3 separate regions of the Homo sapiens genome follow, and all the other regions are linked to region 3. The links are contacts of gene promoters, found by promoter capture Hi-C in blood cells and fetal thymus (Javierre and others, 2016). All regions are on one chromosome and are shown on one strand. Each heading gives the region's core, a stretch centred on a gene start or on the middle of the fragment in contact. The rest is flanking DNA. Distances are from core to core; before and after follow the strand shown. Region 1 overlaps LINC02770 (long intergenic non-protein coding RNA 2770). Region 2 overlaps LINC02770 (long intergenic non-protein coding RNA 2770). Region 3 holds the start of RGS21 (regulator of G protein signaling 21).

What was found. Contacts are between HindIII fragments. The CHiCAGO score rates a contact against its expected background, and 5 or more counts as called.
Region 1: a contact is called between a fragment that was not itself captured here and the fragment with the promoter of RGS21 in region 3, in 1 of 17 cell types (neutrophils). The highest score is 6.1, in neutrophils.
Region 2: a contact is called between a fragment that was not itself captured here and the fragment with the promoter of RGS21 in region 3, in 2 of 17 cell types (M0 macrophages and endothelial precursors). The highest score is 5.3, in M0 macrophages.

The regions. Positions count from the first base shown.
Region 1 is chr1:191,907,261-191,909,960 of GRCh38, reverse strand. The region is part of intron 5 of LINC02770 (long intergenic non-protein coding RNA 2770); the gene reads right to left. Among named protein-coding and RNA genes, the nearest start is that of LINC02770, 180 kb to the right of the region's middle. The HindIII fragment of the contact is 7,214 bases long and covers 1-2,700 here.
Region 2 is chr1:191,979,925-191,982,624 of GRCh38, reverse strand. The region is part of intron 9 of LINC02770 (long intergenic non-protein coding RNA 2770); the gene reads right to left. Among named protein-coding and RNA genes, the nearest start is that of RGS18, 180 kb to the left of the region's middle. The HindIII fragment of the contact is 6,034 bases long and covers 1-2,700 here.
Region 3 is chr1:192,315,692-192,318,391 of GRCh38, reverse strand. RGS21 (regulator of G protein signaling 21) reads right to left here and starts at 1,400. Exons shown (of 5, transcript NM_001039152.3): 1 at 1,287-1,400. The HindIII fragment of the contact is 2,232 bases long and covers 1-1,915 here.

The DNA.
Region 1 (2,700 bases), core at 101-2,600, 410 kb after region 3:
CCCATTTGCATCAGAATGTCCTGAATGTGAGACATGGAGTTAAAGATGATAATTTTGGAGCTTTAAGATGTAATGACTGCCTGTTGGATTTTGAACTTGAATGGGGGCTGTAGCCCCTTTGTTTTGGCCAATTTCTCCCATTGTAATGGGGACATTTATCCAATACCTGCACTTCCATTGTATCTTGGAAGTATCTAAATTGCCTTTGATTTGACAGGCTCATAGGCAGAAGGGACTTGCCTTGTCTCAGATGAAACTTTGGATTTGGATTTTAGGTTAATTCTGATATGACTTAAGACTGGGGGACTGTTGGGAAGGCATGATTGGTTTTGAAAAGTGAGGACATAAGATTTGGGAGAGCTTGGGGAGGAATAATATGGTTTGGCTGAATCCCCACCCAAATCCCAATTTGTAATTGTAATGCCCTTAATCCCCATGTTTCGAGTGAGGGACCTGGTGGGAGGTGATTGAATGATGGCAGCAGTTTTCCCCATGCTGTTCTTGTGATAGTGAGGGAGTTCTCACAAGATCTGATGGTTTTATAAATGGCAGTTCCCCCTGGGCTTTTTGTTCTCTCTCACCTGCCACCATGTGAGAAGTATCTGCTTCTCCTTCTGCCATAATTGCAAATTTCCTGAGGACTCCCCAGTCATGCAGAACTCTGTGTCAATTAAACCTCTTTTTTAAAAAATAAATTATCTAGTCTCAATAGTTCTTTATAGTACTGTAAGACTGAACTAATACACTGTTCCATCACAGGCCCAAAGACCTAGGAGGGAAAAATGTTTTCATGGGCTGGGCTCAGGGCCCTGCTGCTCTGTGCAGCTTGGGGACAGGGTGCCCTTTGTCTTAGCCACTCCAGCTCCAGCTGTGGCTATAAAGAGCCAAGGTACAGCTTTAGCCATTGCTTCAGAGGTTGCAAGCCCCAAGCCTTGGTAGCTTCCATGTGGTGTTGGGCCTGCAGGTGTGCAGAACACAAGAGATGAGCTTTGGGAGCCTCCACCTAAATTGCAGAGGATGTATGGAAAGGCCTGGATGTCCAGGCAGAAGTCTGTTGCAGGGATGAAGCCGTTATGGAGAACCTAGTGCAATGCAGAAGAGAAAAGTTGGGTTGGAGCTCCCAACACAGAGCATCCACTGGGCCACTGCCTAGTGGATCTGTGAGAAGAGGGCCACCATCCTGCAGACCCCAGAATGGTAGATCCACCATGGCTTGCACAGTGATACTGGAAAAGTCACAAACATTCAACAACAGCCCATGAAAGCAGGTGCAGGGATTGTACCCTGTAGAACCACAAAAGCAGAGCTGCCCCAGGCCTTGGGAGCCCACCTCTTGCATCAGCAAGTCCTGGGTTTTAGACATGAGGTCAAAGGAGATTTTTTTGATGTTTTGGATTTAATAACTGCCCTGTAGGTTTTCCGACTTGTATGGGGCCTGTAGCCCATTTGTTTTGACCAATTTCTCCCTTTTGGAACAGGAGCATTACTCAATGCCTGTACACCCATTGTACCTTAGAAGTAACTAACATACTTTTGATTTTAGAGGCTCACAGGTGGAAGGGCCTTCCCTTGTTTCAAGTGAGACTTTCGACTTGGACTTTTGGTTTAATGCTGAAATTAGTTAAGACTTTGCGGGACTGTTGGGAAGGCATAATTGTGTTTTGAAATGTGAGCATTATATCTGATTTGGGAGGAGCTGGGGCAGAATAACATGGTTTGGCTCTGTGTCCTCAACCAAATCTCATCTTGAATTGTAAACTCCATGTGTCCTGGGAGGAAACTGGTGGGAGGTGATTAGATTATGGGGGTGGTTTCCCCCATGCTGTTCTCACAATAGTGAGTGAGTTTTCATGTGATCTGATGGTTAAAAAGTGTTTTTCAGTTCCCCCCTTGCTCTCTCTCTCCTGCTGCCATGTAAGACATGCCTTGTTTCCCCTTCTCCTTCCACCATGATTGTTAGTTTCCCGAGGCCTCCTCAGCCATGCAGAACTGTGAGTCAGTTAATCCTCTTTTGTTTACAAATCTCCTAGTCTCAGGTAGTTTTTTCAGCAATGCAAAAACAGACTAATGTAGTTATTCAAACATTTTGTCTACACAGTAAAGATTCTAAACTGTTTATTTCTCACAAGTCTTATGCGTATGTGTGTGTGTGTATTTCTCTACTAAACCTGCACTGAAAGAGGAAAACATTATTAAAGTCATATAGCAATTGAAGACATGACCTTCAGCAAGTAATATTCATAATTAACAAATATTACAATTATATTTTGTTAATCAAGATGGAGAAAAACTAAAAAAAAAACCTTAAACTATAAATATGGAAAGAAGAAACAAAGAAAGAAGAAAGAAAGAGAGAGAAAGAGAGAAAGAAAGAAAGGAAGGAAGGAAGGAAAGAAAGAAAGAAAGAGAAAGAAAGAAAGAAAGAAAGAAAGAAAGAAAGAAAGAAAGAAAGAAAGAAAGAAAGAAAGAAAAGAAAGAAGCAGAAAAGGAAATTTAATTACAGGTGCCTTTTCAGTGCTTCCCATACTTTAGAATAAATTTCTTCTAGTTTTCCAGCTGTGAAGGCAGCCATTGTTCTCAGGGGAGCTAATTATACTAAGAAGCTCGCCTTCCTGGTGGGCTCTAATAAGCACAGTTCATTGCAGAACTTTACCAGTGTGTGTCAAAGACCCACAACTGTGTGAGGCTGATGCTAGGGGC
Region 2 (2,700 bases), core at 31-2,530, 340 kb after region 3:
ATCACAGATACAATTGATGTTGTTTATAGCTGAAGAAATCACACACTAATGACATTAATGCATGCACTCAGGATCAAATCCAAAGTGTCCAACCCAACAAACATCATAGATATAACTTTAGGAAAATGTCTTCCCTTAGGAAAGTTACTTTAAAAATAGGAAAGAGTGACTGTAACACATGCACAGATATCAACCTAAGAATACAAGCAACATAAAAAAGTAAGGAAATATGGCTTATGAAATCATAGAAAAAGATTTTAAAATATAATATTGAAGAAGCTCAGAAAGTACATAATAATAAACCATATAATTAAATCAGAAAAGCAATCCAGGGTAGAGTAAGAAATTTGACAAAGAGATAAACATTATGAACCAAATGGAAATCTGGAACTGAAGAATTCATTGAATGAAATACAAAATATATTCAAAAGCCTCAAAAACTGACTAAATCCAGCAGAAGTATCTCAGGATTTGAAGGCCAGTCCTTTGAGATAACCAAGACAAAAATTTGAAATAAGGAGTTTTAAAAAAATGAACACAGCATATGTAACATATGGAACACCATAAAGCAACACAATCTTTGAACTTTTGGTGTCCCAGAAGGCAAAGAGAAAATGAAAATGATAGAAAACTTAGTGAGAGAAATAATACTGACAACTTTCCAGGACTAGCAAGAAATACAGATATCCAAATATAGGAAAAGTCTCAAAAGTTACCACTACAGAAGACCACCAAATCACAATAATAAATGATAAGAGAAAAAGAAAAAGGCTATCCAAAACAACCAGAAATCAATTAATACAATGCTAACAATAAGCTCCTGCATATCAATAATAACCTTGAATGTAAACTACATTAAACTTTTGATTTAAAGATATAGACTAGCTGAATGGATTAAAAAAGGACCCAACTATATGCTGCCTACAAGAAACCTCGTCATATTTGTAGACATATATAACCTAAAGTAATAAGATGAAAAAAGAAATATTTTAAAATGGAAATCAAAATTGAGCATGAGTAGTCATACTTAAGTTAGATAAAATAGACTTTAAGTCAAAAACAGTAAAAAGAGACAAAAAATTATAAAATGATAAAAGGATCAATTCGGCAAGAGGATGTAACAATTCTAAACATATTTACCCAACACAGAACACTCAAATATATAAAGCAAATATTACTAGATTTAAAGGGAGAGATAGGCTCAAATACAGTAATATTTGGGGACTTCAACACCATACTGTCAGCATTAGACAGAACACATAGACAGAAAATTAGAACCCTCACCCGCCAAAACATAGAAGAGATAGTAAAACAAAAATGCATTTTTAAAGGTAAACAAAATGGATAACCTACTTTCTAGATGACCAAGAAAATTACTTCTCCTCAATTATTTCAAAAAACTCAAGAGGAGGGAATTCTCTCTAACTTAGTCTACCAGGCCAGCATTAATCTGATACCAAAACCACACTAAGATGCAAGAACAAAAAAAAAAAAAAAGAAAAGAAAAGAAAACTGAAAGCTCATATTCTTGACAAACATATATGCAAAAGTCCTCAAGAAAATACTAAAAAATTGAATCTAACAGCACATCAAAACTATAATACATCATGATCAAGTAGGATTTATCCCAGGATGCAAGGATGTTTCAACATACACAAATCAATAAATGTGATAAACCACATCAACAGAATCAAGGGCAAAATCAGTATGATCTTCTCAATAGATACAGAAAAGCACTTGATAAGATTTAACATCTCTTTATAATTAAAAGTCTCAACAAACTAGACATAGAAGGAACATATTCAACATAAGAAAGGCCACATATAACAAACCCACAGTCAATATCATACTAAATGGGGAAAAACTGAAAGTCAAATTGTCCTTCTTTGCTAATTATATAATCTTGTATCTAGAAAAACCTATAGACTTTCCCAGTAAACCTTTTAGATTTGATAAACAAATTCAGTAAAGTTGCAGGATACAAAATCAACATAGAAAAATCAGTAGCATTTGTATACACCAATAATTAATTAGCTGAGAAAAAAAAGCAATTGCATTTACAATATCTATTAAAAAATAAAATATCTGGGGATAAATGTAATAAAGACGGTGAAAGATCTCCATGAGGAAAACTATAAAACACCAATAAAAGAAACTGAAGAGGATATAAATGGATTAGAGAACTAATATTGATAAAATGATCATATATCCCAAAGCAATCTACAGATTCAATTCAAAATCCATTAAAATGCCAACATCATTTTTTACAGAATTATAAAAAAAATCCTAAAGTTCATTGGAACCAAAAAATACCCCACATAGCCAAAGCAATTCTGAGCAAAAGGAACAAAGCTGGAGATATAACACTACCTGACTTCAAAATATATTACAAGGCTATAAAGAAAAGCAGTTTGGTATTGGTATAAAAACAGACATGGAACAATTTAACAGACTAGAGTTAAATAAAAAAACATGTATTTACAGCCAACTGATTTTTGACTGAGGCATAAAGAACATTCAGTGGGAAAGATATTTTCTTCAACACATGGTTCTGGGAAAACTGGATATTCACATGTAGAAGAAGGAAACAGCACCCTTATCTTTCACCATACACAAAAATCAACCAAAGATAAATTAAAGACTTAAAACTATAAAACTACAAGAGGAAGCCTACACAAATATTAATATTTCTGGATATTC
Region 3 (2,700 bases), core at 151-2,650:
AGATCCTGTGATGTCCTTCAAATCAAACCAGAGGAGATTGCTTTACTTCTTTCCCAATTGCACAGAGGCAATTAGCAGAAGTAATTAATAGTGTTACTTCGAGAATGCTGTGGCTGCTTGATTTATTTTCAAATCAAATAGAAAATTATAGTGTCCCCTTAACAAATTCACAGGTGTACTTGACATTTCTAAGTTTAATGACTAGGTTTTTTTTAGATAATGCAATATTTTGACATTGTCTAAAAATAACAGGATATTGATTTCTTAAAAAGGCAATTATACGATGAATATATTAATATTTACTAATATTTTAGACTATAATACATTTTAGAAAGCAGGAGAAAGAGTTGCCAGCATTTGGTGTCATAAGTTTTAGGGCATGGTACAAACCACTAATATGTTATACATATACTATAATACATGTACTAGTAAATGCCAAAACAAAGTAACAACCATTTCATCTTGAGTTGTGAATGCACATGTTGACTAAAAATTTTATGAAATTACAAACTAAAATTATATAAACTAATTTTAAAGAACTTAATATAAGTTATAAGTTAATAAGACTTTACTTAGAGTGACATGAAGATGCATTTTTCAAAATTATTTTAAAAATAAAATTTGAAGAATAGTGAAAGTACTAACTGAAATATATCTTTAAAACTGTAAACATTGTTGAAGTAGTGCTTTTATCCTATCAAGTTCTACTCAAGTCATTTAACCATATATAAGTAAAGACATAAAAATAGTAATATTATATTTAATGTGCTTTTCTATGCTGTATGTAACATCTTTCTCACATTTTCTTTATTTATATAATTCATTACTTTCAGGTATGGTAATTGGCCACCTGCTGTGTGTCCTTGAGAAAGATGTTATTATTACTTGTTCTAGTTGCTTTTCCAAAAGGATATAAGAAAAGTATGAGATAGATTTTTTTTTTTTACATTTCTTCTAGCTTTAAAATTCTATGGGTTCTATAATCCTATCTCTTGTCTTTTTCTCTCCCCTCCCGTGGAGTCTGATATCCTTTGTTCATCTTTTTTACAAATTTGAAGCAGACTAGTTGGCAAAGTGTCAGTTCTTTGACAATCTGTGATAATATATTATTTTCTGCAAATGTTACCAAATGAATAGCTAGTAAAATTTTTTCTTTTTATGATTCCAAACTCGCTGAGTTTGATGAAAAGAATCTAATAGTTGGCATTTTTATCTCTAAATGTCATCAGTTTAATCTTTGTAACAAGTTCATTTATATAATAAACCTTAAATCTCTTTATACTCACACAAATGCAATGCAGGGGAAATCACTGTCCTTGCTCTCTTGATTCCTTCTTTGTTGACAGGATAGATGAGAAAATCTGTGCTTCTTTCAGATGAATTGTTTTCCAAGTGGTAACTTTTCTATATTAACATACTCTCTACCATATGTTTTTCTTTTCTACACAATCTTCATATAACCACATTATTTTTGAGGTTAAGTTTAATATCTAAACACCATTGAATCCATTCCATAATCAAGATATTTAGATTGTAGTTAGTTTTAATTTGAAGAATTTTGGTGGTGTTTCTATTAAATACATAATAAATGTAACAGTAACTCCGACTATCTGAGTCTCTTTTTTTAATGACCTGGTACCTATTTGTGTCAGTGTCCTAAAATCTTCACATTGTGAAGTCACATACATGTGGTATGGAAATTATTTTTTCAGTCAAAAATATGTAAATCTTTACTTTGCAATTGTACTCTGATAAAGTAGCTCAGTTTGAGGGAAAAAAATAAAACAAGCCTTTGTTTTTCTTCTGAAGGCAGTATTTGCATGGCTTTCATATGGTATACATGTTTGCATAGGAAATTTGTCTTTAGTTTCGCATCTGCCCAGATTATAGCCTTTAGTTTCAATGATTCAAAGCTTATGTGGAAGACACTTAAAATACTTAAAAGCTACATACTATTATTTTATGATTTCAGCTAATCAAGGCGCAACTTTTAATGTATGAACAACATCTTTATCAAGTCAAGCAGATAATGAAGGGAAATTATCAAACTATGCTCTCTTTTTTAAAGTAATGGGCCTAAAATTGGACAGATATACTTGAAGTGGCGAAGGAGGAAAATATTATACAACCACTTCATCTGTCCAGATTATTTGAGCCTTTCCTGTATCAATGAAACATCAGCTGTTGCGGTGAGAGCATTTTAATGCACATCCTATTTTACGATCTAGATGCATTAATGATTAATTTATTGAATATGTTTTGTTTTCTATGCTGTAACACTGGCATATCAAAAACTTCAATAGATTGTCACATTTTAACTCTGGACCTTTGGGTTTTAGTGCAAATAATTAACTCTTTACTACTCACATAGCCTCAAATGTGTTTAAGTATTATTACAGGGAGAAATATATTGCTTTACTAAGTAGTTTTACTTGATATTTTACTAAACTCCGTTAAATATATGCTATGTATGTAGTATTTGAAATGTGATACATCTATAAAGGAAAATATTTAGCATAATTGTTAGCTTTACCCAAACAATTTTGAAAGTTAGGTTATTTATTTTCTTTTTGTCTCAGTGTGTATACTTAATGTCCCTCTTGTGCTACACACAATGACTGAAGAAATGTAAGCTTCATGAGAAGAAACATTCACATAGAAATCTTGATCAATTTCTCAGAATTAATAAATCAAAGGGAA